Regions from separate parts of the Homo sapiens genome. Here regions 2, 3 and 4 are each linked to region 1. Evidence: promoter capture Hi-C in 16 types of primary human blood cells and fetal thymus (Javierre and others, 2016). All regions are on one chromosome and are shown on one strand. Each heading gives the region's core, a stretch centred on a gene start or on the middle of the fragment in contact. The rest is flanking DNA. Distances are from core to core; before and after follow the strand shown.

What was found. Contacts are between HindIII fragments. The CHiCAGO score rates a contact against its expected background, and 5 or more counts as called.
Region 2: a fragment that was not itself captured here is called in contact with the fragment with the promoter of WDR64 in region 1 in 2 of 17 cell types (fetal thymus and non-activated CD4 T cells); the score reaches 5.9 in fetal thymus.
Region 3: a contact is called between a fragment that was not itself captured here and the fragment with the promoter of WDR64 in region 1, in 3 of 17 cell types (monocytes, activated CD4 T cells and fetal thymus). The highest score is 7.0, in monocytes.
Region 4: a fragment that was not itself captured here is called in contact with the fragment with the promoter of WDR64 in region 1 in 1 of 17 cell types (fetal thymus); the score reaches 5.4 in fetal thymus.

The regions. Positions count from the first base shown.
Region 1 is chr1:241,650,301-241,653,869 of GRCh38, forward strand. It overlaps WDR64 (WD repeat domain 64), which reads left to right and starts at 1,981. Exons shown (of 28, transcript NM_001367482.1): 1 at 1,981-2,329. The coding sequence starts at 2,185. The HindIII fragment of the contact is 1,763 bases long and covers 743-2,505 here.
Region 2 is chr1:244,464,297-244,467,865 of GRCh38, forward strand. The region is part of intron 2 of CATSPERE (catsper channel auxiliary subunit epsilon); the gene reads left to right. Among named protein-coding and RNA genes, the nearest start is that of CATSPERE, 4.8 kb to the left of the region's middle. The HindIII fragment of the contact is 6,278 bases long and covers 1-3,569 here.
Region 3 is chr1:244,443,354-244,446,922 of GRCh38, forward strand. All of the region lies in intron 1 of ADSS2 (adenylosuccinate synthase 2), which reads right to left. Among named protein-coding and RNA genes, the nearest start is that of ADSS2, 6.8 kb to the right of the region's middle. The HindIII fragment of the contact is 1,046 bases long and covers 1,211-2,256 here.
Region 4 is chr1:244,031,492-244,035,060 of GRCh38, forward strand. All of the region lies in intron 8 of LINC02774 (long intergenic non-protein coding RNA 2774), which reads left to right. Among named protein-coding and RNA genes, the nearest start is that of ZBTB18, 18 kb to the right of the region's middle. The HindIII fragment of the contact is 1,411 bases long and covers 1,020-2,430 here.

The sequences.
Region 1 (3,569 bases), core at 731-3,230:
CTAATCTCAACCACTGTCATCTCTTACTTGCATTACTGAAATTTCCACTTAACTGCCTTCCCGGCTTCTACCCTCTCTCCCTTTCAGTTTATTCTCCGCAAAGCAGCTGGAATGATTCTTTTCAAATGCACGTCAGATCATGTCACTGTTCTGCTCAAAAACATCCCATCTCAGAGTAAAAGCCAAAGTCCTAAAACAGCCAATAAGATCCTACGTGATCTGGATGCCACCCCCTGACTCTCTTGCCTTCTCTCTCTACCTCTCTCTCTCATCCCACACCACCTCAGTCACACTGGCCTCTGTCGTTTCTCAGATATGTGAAGCACACACCAATCTCAGGACTTTACGCCTGCTGTCCCTAGAACATCCTTCTACCATTTATCCACATGACTTGCTACCTCACTTCTTTCAGGTTTCTGCCCAGAAATCTTTCTATTAATGGGGAATTCCCTGATCTCCCTACCTCTTTTACTTTGATTTTTACCCCCACCCTAATACACACAAAATTCCTCTCTCTTCGTAGCACAATTGCTCACTGATACATTATTTATTTGTTTGTCTGTCTTCTGCATTAGTCTATAAACTTGAGAAGCTATTTTATTCACTGCTGTATCCTTAGTGTCTAAAACAGCCTCTAGCATGAAGTGTGTATTCAGTAAATATTTCCTAGATGAATTAATGGTGAATGCATTAGAATTGTAGGAAGAGTGGTTCTCCAGACATCACTGTACAGTGGTTTGAAAGCTTTAAAGGAAAAAGGAGGAGAAACAAATGGGGTTGGGGGATTTTTCTTTAAATAAAATCTTACTGCGCTCTCCTAACAGATAGTTAGAGGTGGACACCAAGAAGACAGTACTGGAATTGGAGGTGCTCTGAAATGCCATCTGCTTCATCTCTGAATGCAAGTTCTTGAAGAATGTTTTAAAAGATGGACTACCAAGGGGTAGGAAATTTATCTAACTCACCTAAGCCATAGGAAGTTAACTAATTGTTGAGAAACATTAAACAACTTCTCCTTCCCATAAAAAGTTGAAAATTGGAAAACCGGAGTCAATAGCATTTGGACTAAGTCGGATTGGAGATTGCAATGACTGGGAAGGAGATGTGCAGAAAGGCCTCTTCTAATTCATCTGACCTCTTACCTTGAAAAGCTGTCCTCATAATCAGAAGCCACTCCTTCCTTATCCTTGGCTCACTTTATTATTTCAATCGAAGGACAATGCACAAAGGAAGAAGAGCATTTGTATTCCCTATGACCTCTAAAAATGTTTGTGGTAGAAATGACAGGTGCTGAAATACATTTCATCTTTAGAAGTTCGAATTTCCATATCCAGTACAGTGGCAAGAATAAGTGTGAATATTACTTTTTTTTTTTTTTGAGAGGAAGTCTCACTCTGTCACCCAGGTTGGAGTGCAGTGGTGTGATCTCAACTCACTGTAACCTCTGACTCCCAGGTTCAAGTGATTCTCTTGCCTCAGCCTCCTGAGTAGCTGAGATCACAGGTGCCCGCCACCACATCCAGCTAATTTTTGTATTTTTAGTAGAGACGGGGGTTTCACCATGTTGGCCAGGCTGGTCTTGAACTCCTGACCTCAGGTGGTCCACCCACCTCGGCCTCCCAAAGTGCTGGGATTACAAGAATGAGCCGCCGTGCCTGGCCAAACTTTACTTTCCGCGGTATTGTGAGGAAGGCAAAAGGTTTGAGGTGAGAAGAGATACACGAGGGAGAAAGTATTACCCAGTTTTCTTACTTGTTATTTACTCATTCCTTTTCCCTCTCAAGCAGTATACACAACACACACATGTGCACGCGCACACACACACACAGTCTGTGGGGAAAAAAATATCTCAATCTCCTCCTTATGAAGGAAGTAGGATGTTACAGAGATATTATGATGCAATGAGGACCCTATGAAGGACACTGATGACATTGTGAGGTCAGGATTTTTACTGAAATGTTTGTCTGTATGAAATGCATCAGACCTAAATCAGCTTTCCTCCCTGCTAACATCCTAGTGGCAACTCTTACTCCTACCCGCACTATGGGATTTTAAGATCAAAGGAATTAGACCTAGGGCAAAAACTGAGACAGCAGGGAGGCACTGTAACAACTGGAAAGTTTTCCAAATTGGTAAACTTGCAGTATTCTTTCTGTACAGAAGTAAAAGATCCCCTATGTCCCTATGGATATCAGGAAGGAAAAGCGTCTCAACATGGCACTTCAGATGAGCAATTTCAAAAAGGCTTTGAACAGGTTTGAAAAATTGGTTGAACAAACAGCAGCCCAGAAAAGAGATGAAAGAGCAGGCTTATTTATCCATAAAGAAGGTAAGATCAGTGATTACACGATAGTCCAATTGGGTCTGTTGGTTAGAACTGGAAAATGTTTTAAGCCATCAGAGAGAAGCATCAGAGCTTAATGTGAAAGAATGGGTGCTGAAAGGGGATGAAGACCTCAGTTCTTGTTCTTTCTCTGTCCCTAAATAACAAAGCGGACATGAGGAAGCTTTTGTTTTGTTTTGTTTTTGTTTTTGTTTTTTTTTTTTACTTCTCTGAACCGAAGTTGCTTCAATTGTAAAACTATGGGATTGGATTAAATGACGTCCAGTGTTCTTCTGTAGACGCTGCCATTTGATGGCTCACTGGTTGACCTGGGATGCTCAGTAATGTATAGCACTGCTTTTTCTTAGCCTAAAGATATCATGAGACCATAAAGACTTTCATAAGAAGTGCAGCTTCCTGCCTCACCATGATTCCATTGTCTTGGCCACTCTCCATATCTCTAGGCAGGAATGATCTTGAGGATGCAAGCTAAGGAGAATATGGTGGACAGTGGTCTTACAGGAGGATTTGCAGCAGAGATGCCAGTGCATAGACAAGATTCAAGGGGAGTGGTGTAGTGTACAGCTTTGGCGTATTGAGGACAGCTGTGAAAAATAAAGCTACATGGCAGAGTGAAAGACTAACAGAACAAACCCTGCTGTTGCAATGAAAGGAGCAGAGCCCATATAATTGCTAAAGGGATAGTATAGCCAGCCTCTGAGTGTGCCAGGCTGCATAGTAATTTGTAAGTGAAAATCTTGACTTTGGGTGTTCAAACCCAAGCTGGTATTAATTGAATAGTATTTAATAATTTATAGTCATGTTAATCAATGTCATTATGTTCATTTTATTTGTGGAAAAAATGGGAGCTGAAGATAAATCATTTGCCCAAGTTACCCAAATTCTTTTCTTTTCTTTTCTTTTTTTTTTTTTTTCTGAGACGGAGTTTCATTCCTATTGCCCAGGCTGGAGTGAAATGGTGCGATCTCGGCTCTCTGCAACCTCTGCCTCCCAGGTTCAAGTGATTCTCCTGCCTCAGCCTCCCAAGTAGCTGGGATTACAGGCACCCACCACCACACCCGGCTAATTTTTTGTATTTTTAGTAGAGACGGGGTTTCACCATGTTGGCCAGGCTGGTCTTGAACTCTTGACCTCAGGTGATCCACCTGCCATGGCCTCCCAAAGTGCTGGGATTACAGGTGTGAGCCACCGTGCCCGGCCAAAGTCACCCAACTTCTAAGTGTTA
Region 2 (3,569 bases), core at 469-2,968, 2.8 Mb after region 1:
AAATCAGGATGTATGGTCACCCAAACTATAGACCTCATTCTCTATATTACTTTTCTTATTCAACACTTTCTACTTCATTTCTTCTTATCTGCCTAATTACTGGTGTAAATCAATTATATTTTATATACCCCTATTGCTGGACATATAGCTTCCTACCATCACAAACAATACTGGAATGAGTGTCCTCTATAGGTCCTTTTATGTATCTGTGTATCTGTGCAATCATTTTCCTGCTATATGTAGCCAAATAGAGTTGCCTGGCCATGGGAAATACACTTAATTTAACAAAGTTCCGCAAGATTGTTTCCCGAATGGCAGTTACAATTTATATTCTCACTCAATGTACATCTTCACCAAAATTTGGTGTTATTAAATTTCCTATTTTTTTTTTACCAATCTCATTATTATCCAGTGATAGCTATTGCTGTTGTTATTTTCAGTTTCTTTGATGACTAGTGATTTTGAGCATCTCTTCGCATATTATGTAGGCTTCTCCTTCTATTACCTGTTCATACCCTTTGCCTATTTTTCATTTAATTTTCTGCCTTTTTCTTACTCGTTAACACAGTGCTATCTACATTGCGTTGTAAAAATTAATCAAATGTTGGTTTCAAAGATTCAGTTATCTCAAGTTTCTGTTAACTTTGTTCATGGATACTTTACTGAAAAAAAAAAAAGCTGAATTTTGATGAGCCAAATCTCTCCCCTCCTTTGCCTTATGATTTAAACTTTTGGAGGCTCCTTTTTTTTTTTTTTGGAGACAGAGTCTCACTCTGTCACCCAGGCTGGAGTGCAGTGGTGCAATCTTGGCTCACTGTAACCTCTGCCTCCCGGGTTCAAGCGATTCTTCTGCCTCAGCCTCCTGAGTAGCTGGGACTACAGGTGCACACTACCATGCCCGGCTAATTTTTGTACTTGTAGTAGAGATGGGATTTCACCATATTGGCCAGGCTGGTCTTGAACTCCTGACCTCGTGATCCACCAGCCTCGGCCTCCCAAAGTGCTGGGATTACAGGCCTGAGCCACCGCGCCTGTCCAGGGCTCTTATTTAATAAAAATATTTGCTTACCCTGAACTGAAATGTTTTTATAATTTTAGTTTATATTTCTTATATTTTTACCTTTAAAATATAGGTCATAAATCCATCTAGAGTCTGCCTTGTATATAGTACAATAGGCATTCACATTACTTTTTTCACATAATGAACCAGAATCTATTAAACAACTCACTGTTCCCCTATTACCTTTCTCATGTCACCTTTGTTCCGTATGTAGATGAGTTGTTTGTGAACTTTCTTATTTGTCCTGGTGCCAATTCTACACTCTCTTAACTGCTATAGCTTTCTAATGAGTCTTCGGATCTGGTCCTGTGAACATCTAGTTTGTTCTTCCACAAGACTACTTTGGCTATTTGCGTTTTTATATAAATTTTAGAATAAGGCTGTTAGTTTTCACAAGCAAAAATCTGCTGAGATTTTGATTGGGATTGCACTTGGGGAGAACTGACATTGTTATCATAGTAACTGGTATCATTATGATATTGAATCTTCCAATTCATGAAGAATGATGTAGCCCTCCAGAGTTGATCTCATTATCTTCTTCCTAACTTTAGTAGATTTCTTCCAACATCTCCCAATTAAACAGATGCTCCCTTTTGGGCAGAGAGAGATACATTTCATTAAATTAACTAAGTATTCATTGGTTCCTAATTTATTGAATATGGTAAAAAATAGTCGCTATAAGTGATACTTATAGTGAATTGTGAAATGCCTTTTCACAGTCTACAGAAAAAAGTTTTTGAGTTTTCTCAGACTTGTTATCATAGTGAATCATATTAACATATTCACTTTTATTGTATCATCCTTGGATTTTGGGAAAACCCCACACGGTACCAATGTAGTAGTTCAATATGCTCTCAGGGACTATTGTTAATATTTTATATAAGATTCTTTTATCAATATTCATACATGAGTTTGCTCCACAGCAGTTATCTCAGTGGGGATGCCACTGAAATTTTGAGCAGGAAAAATTTTCATTGTATGGAACTATCCTTTGCTTTGCAGAACAGCTTGCTTCCCTGGTTCCCAAACACTAAGTAGCAGTGACAATCCTCAGGGATTGTGTGACCTGAGATACTCTTCCATATTTCCAGATGCCCTCTAAGGCAGGCAGAATCCAGCCAGTACACACTTGGGTAGCATGCTGCCTGGTATTCGCTTGGAACTGTCAGTGTCTGTGCTGTACAACTTGTTAAACACTTGTCATATTATCCCTGTCTTTAAGGGAGCGTGTAGCAGTCAGGGGTCAGAGGACAGCAGTAACCACTCTAGATATTTCAAGCAGAAATTTATTTGCTACAGGAAATTAGGTGCTCACCAAACTGTTGGGAGGGCTAGGAAAGCAAGGGTCTTAGAAACCCCCACTAATTTTTAGGTTTATCAATAGTCAAAAAGTTGCTGTTGCCACCAGAGATCAGGACCTGGAGGAAATAGGTGCCCATGTCACAAGTCTCTCCCAGTACCTAATGAGGGATGGTGCTCAATGGAAAGATGGGACAGAGGCCTTCCCCAAAACCACCTATCTTTGAAGCCTGGACTTTTGGTACCACTGCCTGAGGAAGAAGAATGGCTTCCTCTTTTTTACAAGTTCCAGTCCACATCTGATTTTCAGTCGTTCAGAACCCTTGAGGGTTCCTGGTTTCCAGCTCCTGCAATCTAGGGATAGCCTAGAGTTATGCAGGAATGAATGATCATGGCTGAGAATACAATACACAACAGTCAATTCCTAGCACTGTGTGGTATCACTCGTAAATTAGAATCAGGAGTCTTTAGTTAATTTTTACTAAATAACTCAACAATTTCTGTTGTGTTTTCTATCAGTGTTGTGCTCCCTTTATAAATAAATAAATATTTATAATTTGAACCAGGCCCAGATGGTTTTGTGTGGGAATTCTACCAAATCTTTAAGAAGCACATCATTTCAGTATTGTTTAAATTTTTCTAAAGTATAAAAAAGAAAGGAGGAAAAGACCTAAGGGGATATTTCACAAAAAAGGATGTACAAATGACCAGCAAACTTATGAAAAATTAGTGAAGTGTGAATTAAAATTACAGGGAGATGTAATTACAAACCAATCAGAATGCCTAAAATTAAGAAGACTGAAGATAACAAGGGGTGGTAAGAATGTAAAGCAGTAGGAACTCTAATACACCACTAGAAGGAATGCAGGTTGGTATAACCACTTTGAAAACCTGTTTGCTATTATCCAATAGTGTTGAATATATACGTATCCTGTGACACACTAGTTTGACTCCTAGGTATACATCCAGCACCAGAAGACCTATGTAGGAACGGTTACGACAGCATTATTCCTAAGAACTCCAAACTAGAAACAACCCAGTAGCATGTCAATCAGTAGTATAGAGGGATAAATGCATTTCTGTGTATTCACATAGTAGGATACTATATGGCAAATGAAAATAAGTGCATTGTGTCTACATGTCAACACAAAACAATATGGATGAATCTCACTGTACTCTGTGAAAGTAGCCATACAGAAAAGAACACATT
Region 3 (3,569 bases), core at 484-2,983, 2.8 Mb after region 1:
TTTAACAAATACTTTTCATTATCATAGCTGTATATTCTATATTACTTAACAAAAAAATAGAATATGTTCAATTAATAGTTATATAAACAAAGGGCTGTGGAATCTCAACGTTGTTTCTGGATCAATTATATCCAACAGGGAAAACATTTAGTAATAAATCTCAGAGATAATTTTTTGAACTTTGTTTTTCCTAGAAATAAGTCATATTTCTGAGTTGGTAAAATGCTTTTCTGAACGTACATTTTTGGTATCTGGCACAGTCAACCAAATGTCTGTCCATTTTTGTGTAGCCTTTATACAGTACAGATTTCAGACATCATCCTTGCATCTGAATATTAAAAACATTTGACATTGTTTTTTTCAGTCCGCACAACACCCCTATGAAGTAGGTGGTACTGACTATTCCACAGATGGGGAGGCCTAGGCACGGAAAGGTTTAGTGGCTCCTCACAAGCCACGTGGCAGGGAGGCGGAGTGGCAGAGTGGCGGAGCGGCTCTCCAGCCACGTGCTGACACCGCCTTCTCATTCACACTTCCATCAGTGCCACAACACTGCATGGCAGGCTTTCAGGTTGAGGCCAATTTTTAAACCATTTTACTTCTGAAATATACCCTACCCCCCACCAACACCCCAAGAAACAAAAAACAGCATGAGTCCACAAGTAGCTACGTGGCAGGTTTCTTTGAGGAAAAGCATAAGCTTATAATGCCTTATATGATGTTCTTCTTATATTAAATACCAAGAATAAATGCAGGTTAATTTTATTAAAGTGAACAATATATGAAAGAAAATTCAATTGCAGTCACAAAACATCCCCTAATATAGTATATATTTTACCAATTTTCTTTGACTGTTATTCTTACATTAAGATGAAATACAGGCCGGGCGCGGTGGCTCACGCCTGTAATCCCAGCACTTTGGGAGGCCGAGGCGGGCGGATCACGAGGTCAGGAGATCGAGACCATCCCGGCTAAAACGGTGAAACCCCGTCTCTACTAAAAATACAAAAAATTAGCCGGGCGTAGTGGCGGGCGCCTGTAGTCCCAGCTACTTGGGAGGCTGAGGCAGGAGAATGGCGTGAACCCGGGAGGCGGAGCTTGCAGTGAGCCGAGATCCCGCCACTGCACTCCAGCCTGGGCGACAGAGCGAGACTCCATCTCAAAAAAAAAAAAAAAAAAAAAAGATGAAATACAAAGAAAATATTAAATAAGCTTCTTAATTACCAGGAAAAAATGTATCTCATCACAGAGCTATGAAATAAACTGGAACATCATGATAGAAACAAAAAGCAGGACTAAAATTCTATGTTCTCAAAGCTGAAAAGCAAAGTTTCTGATGTATGCTTTTAGTTTTTACCATCAATACATAGCTAATTTTCATTATTTTAATTAAGGTTAAAATAATAAAAACCAATTTAACTCTATTTTTTGTTCCAGAAAAGCACTACAGGTCAATAGCACATTAGAGTTTTGGAAAACAATTTATAAATGAGAACAATCCAGAACAAATGCTTCCTCATACCTTATTTTCCTATACAAAATTAACTCCAGGTTAGTTATAGCTTTTGTATGCTCAGTCCCCCTCCTTTTCCCCTACTTTGCAAATCATAGGAATCATCCCCCCAGCCACAGCAAACTGATCCAGGCAGGGAAACATGTTCCAACCTGAGCCAGTCAGCTCCTCTCCCTTGGGAATCTGAATTTGAGTACTGAGAAGGAAAGCAATAGCAGTCTGAGATGCCTGTCACCTACGGGAAGCATCCTAAAGAAAAAGGTTGCCAGTTCTAGCTGCTGAAATTCCAGGAGCAGGCTTCATCTCAGGCCACCATCCTGCTCTTCCTTTAAACAAATCCCCATTTTGCTTGAGATAGTTTCTTTCCATTGCTTGCAAACAAAGAACACAAATGATTCACAAAAAAAACTTACTACAACATAATATACACCTTGCTGAATTTACATCTTGTACTAGTGAAACTGAATATTAAAATGATTGCTAGATATTAATAACATTTTATGCTGTCAAGGACAATACTTTAAAGCATTACTGCAGGATAGAGGAATGATATAATAGTATTTAGTTATTCTGTAACTGTTCTCAGTTTTTCCATGCATTCCTTTTCTTCCTAATTTGATGTTTAGTTTAAGGAAGTCGGAAGACAAGTGTTTTGAATTTTCTTTCCATGACTCCTCAGAACCAGAGGCTGTCAAATCCAATTATAGAATAAAATTTTGGATCAGGAAATGCTAATATGTGTAAGCTTCTAGCTAAGAAGCTCCAAAGGTCCAGGGGAGGTTAAAAAAAAAAAAAGTTTGGAAAGGAATTAAATGATATTAGTTTACAAAAGTGACTCTTGATTCTTAACTTGGTTTCACTACTGGGCCTTCTCCTTCCCTAAATCACTCCTTTCTTCGCTCCCCCAAGTGCATTTCTGCTGTGGTAGAGAGATGAAGGCAGTGAATGATCCTCAGTGTTGTAAACCTGAAACAATGGTCTCTTTTCCAGAATACAGGCCCAAGTGTCAAGGGCTACCAATTTCATGCACAAAGCCCAGAGGCATTTTTCAGGCTAGTTAGGCCTCTGTGTCTTATCTTTGTCCTTTTGCTTTGAATATATGAACAACCTACTGTAATCACAGAGCTCAAAATGAACATCAGGAAGTCAGTGGCCACTATGGATTACAGGAGAGAGCAGCAGTGTCTCAGATCCCATGCCCCTGAACTATTTCAGCAACCAAAAAAGGGTTGCTATTTTTTTGTCTAATCTTCAAACTTCTTAAGAGCCTAAAAATCTTTGGAGTCAATGCTTATTATCTATGCTGCTTTCAGGGTAAAGATTGTAAGATCTGTGTCTCCTCCTTTCCAGATGAAACATGTTACCATTCACCAAAACTAAAGCACTTATCAATCCACAGCAATAAAGCAGTTATAAATGATGATTGTTCTTTCATGAAAGCATTCACATAACTGCAATTAGCTTATGATTCCAAAGTAGAGCAGGTTAAGTTACTACCAGCAAGTTGATCAAATTTAACTATGTAGCAGTAACCAGACACACTAGACAGCAAGAGAAAAAAATACACAGGGTATCTGAATTTCTTTCTAGCAAAGATATCCCAGCTCAGTTATCCATTAAAGGTTTAAAGGTATCCACTTTACTTTGCATGATTATAGTTACCTTCTAGTTTCATACACACATAAATGTCACAAATGATGAAAACCTCAGATACCTTATATTTTAGACCTAACATTACTATTATGAAATAACTTCTCACAATGAAAGTGGAAAGGGGCCTTGCCTGAGAGAATCTTAGGTTCCTAAGAAGCTTTAGACTCTGGGTACCAAACTCTAATATTCTTTCACACTCACCAAACCAGGGTCATAGATGAGGCCATAAGACATCCAACCAAAAATGTATAAACCAACGATGTCACACAGCTCTTTGTAAATGTTTGATAAAAATTCACCTAATTAAATTCATGAAAATATTTTCTTAAAAACACATTGAAATTAAACTACAGATTTCAAGTCAAAAAAGTTTTCTCAATAATAAAATTCTTCCTTTAAAAAA
Region 4 (3,569 bases), core at 475-2,974, 2.4 Mb after region 1:
ATTATTAAGCCGAAATGGAATTTTAAACATTATTCCTTTTGCATCTATCATTTTTATCTCAATCATGTTTCCTGAAATGGATTGTCTTTGGTAATTGTCCAGAATTTGTGGGAAACGTTGGTTCAATAAAACCATCGTGATTGATTTTTTGGAGGAAAATAGAATTCTATCTATATATCTGTCTGTCTGACTGTCTGTTTTTGAAGTGTCTCACCCTGTTAAAAAAAATACCCTAAATGATCTTATTTTGCCCAAGTATCAGGTAGCTTTTTATAACAATAGCCTATAAAATACACAACAGTAGTATAAAAGGAAATGAAAAAGCTCTATCTGCCTCAATGATCCATTGTTATCTCTAGCAATATGCTCCCAGACTACAAGTTAAGTGAATTTTTTTTTGAGACAGGGTCTTGCTCTGTCTCCCAGACTGTAGTGCAGTGGTGCAATCAGCACTCACTGCAGCCTGTATCTCCCAGGCTCAAGTGATGCTCCTGTATCAGCCTCCCAAGTAGCTGGGACCTCAAGTGTGCACCACTATGCCCGGCTAATTAATTTTTTAAAAAAATTTTTTGTAGAGATGGGGTCTTGCTATGTTGCCCAGGCTGGTCTCAAACTCTTAGCCTCAAGTGATCCTCCTGCCTCAGCCTCCCAAATAATACTTGACAATGATGCTGAACTCTGAATAGAGAAATTATGAGCGTGAGCCACCATGCCCTGCCTCTTTTTTTTTTTTTTTTTTTTTTTTTTTTTGAGACGGAGTCTCACTCTGTCACCCAGGCTGGAGTGCAGTGGCGCAATCACGGCTGACTGCAAGCTCCGCCTCCCGGGTTCACGCCATTCTCCTGCCTCAGCCTCCCGAGTAGCTGGAACTACAGGCGCCCGCCACCACGCCCGGCTAATTTTTTGTATTTTTAGTAGAGACGGGGTTTCACCATGTTAGCCAGGATGGACTCAATCTCCTGACCTCATGATCCAGCCGCCTCAGCCTCCCAAAGTGCTGGGATATAAAGCCCTATGGAAGCTTTCCTTAACGTCCTCTATAGATGTTCAAAAATTATGCCTCATCATGGGAAAGCACACAAACAAGGAAGAAGGGCAACAGTAGGAATAAGAAGAACAGTAGCTGGCCAGGGCTTGAGATCAAAGCCACACCATTTCTGGAGGCTCATCTTCCATTATTAGAAATGTCTGAGTCTTAGATGCTTCAATATTAAGATGACATAAGAAGACGATTTTGTGACATAGTGAGTTGTATCCTTGAGCATGTGGACCTTGTTAAGTGGGCCTTTAGAAAATAAATTTAAAACAGGGATATTGGAAACTATATTTTCTGTTTATTTACTAGGTAAGAGAAGGCTATGCTCTTGTTTGTTCTTTCTGGGAATACAGCTAGACTAAATTTCTCAGACTCTCTTGCAGTTAATTTTGGGCCATACAACAGAGTTCTGGCCAATAGCTTGTTGGTAGAAGCGTCAAATGCCACCCTAGGCATGGACCATGTTAAATCTCCTTGTATAATCCTATGTGATATCTATTTCTATTCTGTGGGGACTTGGGAGGCCATATATGGAAGATGATTGGAGTCTCCGGTGGCCGAGATGGAAAAAGATTGGTCTCTGAATAATTGCATGGAAGAGGGTCCCACATTCTTCTCCCCGCCAACCAGAACACATTGGGCTAGTCTATCCTCAGAAATAAACCTTTCTGCCCTTTGATCAGCATCTCCTCATTCTCCTCACCCCTGGTAACTGCCATTCCATTCTCTGCTTCTATGAGTTCAACTTTTTAGAGTCCACATATAAGTGAGATCACGCAGCATCTGTCTTTCTGTGTCTGCCTTATTTCACTTAGCATGACAGCCTTTCAGTTCATCCATGTCACAAATGACAGGATCTCCTTTTTAAACGCTGACTAGTATTCCGTTGTACATATACCATGTTTTCCTTATCTATTCACCTGTCGATGGACACTTAGATTGATTCCATACCCGGACTATTGTGAATAGTGCTGCAATGAATATGAGAGTGCAGATATCTCTTCAACATACTGACTTCATTTCCTTTAGATGTAACCCAGGAATAGGAGTGCTGGATCATATATTAGTGTTATTTTAATTTTTTTAGGAACCCCCCCACCCTGCCATACAGTTTTCCATAATGGCTGCACCAATGTATATCTCCACCAACCTTGATTTATTTATTATGGAAACGAAGTTGGGAAGGATGCAGTCCTGGGCTGGTATGGTAATTTTAGGAAGTCATTAAATTAAGAAACTTCCTCCAGCTCTCCTCTCCAGCCTCCTTATAATGTGGCTCTCATCCTTGTGGTCCATCATGTCAGCCCAAGCTCCAGCCATCACGTCCATATTCCAGACAATAGAAAGCAACCAAGAAGAAAGGGTCAAAAGGCATATTCATGGTCTTTTAAGGAAGCTTCCTGTAAACTGCACAAAACACTTCCACGTGCATTTCATTGTCCAGAATTTGTCATAGGGAGCTATCTAGCTGCAAAGAAAGCTGGGAAAGCTTTACTTGGGGGCAGTCATGTACTTGAGAGTTTTGTCACTAAAGAAGAAGGGGAGAACAGCTATTGGGGTAGGGGACCAGAAGACTTTGCTACAGTTAATAACTGCAAGCTTCCTACTGTGAGGGAAAAATTAGCGTATACAAAATGCAATTTTAGACACACACATGTGTTCATGTATACACTTCTTTGTTTACACTTAAACATATGTAACATATAGAGCTTGCCATTTTCACCCTAGTCTTAGCCCATCAGAATTCCTCTGTAGTCAGTGAATTAACTATTCTCCAGTGTTTTGGGCATAAATGTAACTTTACCTGATGGCAAAAGAAAAATAAGGATACTTTACATTTTGTGTATCAGCATGCATAGAAATACAGTCATGTGCCACCTAATGATGTTTTGGTCACCAATGAACTGCAAATATGATGGTCCCATAGGATTATGAGCTAAAAACTTCCTATCACTTAGTGACACAGCCATTGTACCATCATAGCACAATGCATTACACATTTTTCCAGTGATGTCGGTATAAACAAACCTACCTGTGCTATCAGTTGTATAAAAGTACAGTACATGCATTTATGTACAATAAATAATACTTGATAATGATACTAAACAACGATGTCATTGATTTATGTTTTTACTACACTATACTTTTATTATTATATTTTAGAGTGTACTCCTTCTACTTATTTTTTTAAAAAAAAGTTAACTGCAAAACAGCCTCAGGTCAGTCCTTCAGTAGGTGTTCTAGAAGAAGGCACCGTTATCACAGGAGATGACAGCTCCACGTGTGTTACTGCCCCGAAGACCTTCCAGTGAAAGATGATGTGACATGGATGATCCTGACCCTGTGTAGACCTAGGTTAATGTGTGTCTTTGCATCTCAGCGTTTCACAAAAAAGTTTAAAAAGTAAAAAACGAATTTTAAAAATAGAAAAAAGCTCATAGAATATGGATAGAAATATTTTTTGTACAGCTGTACAATAAATATGTTTATGTTTTAAGCTAAGTGTTATCCCAAAAGAGACAAAAAGTTTTTA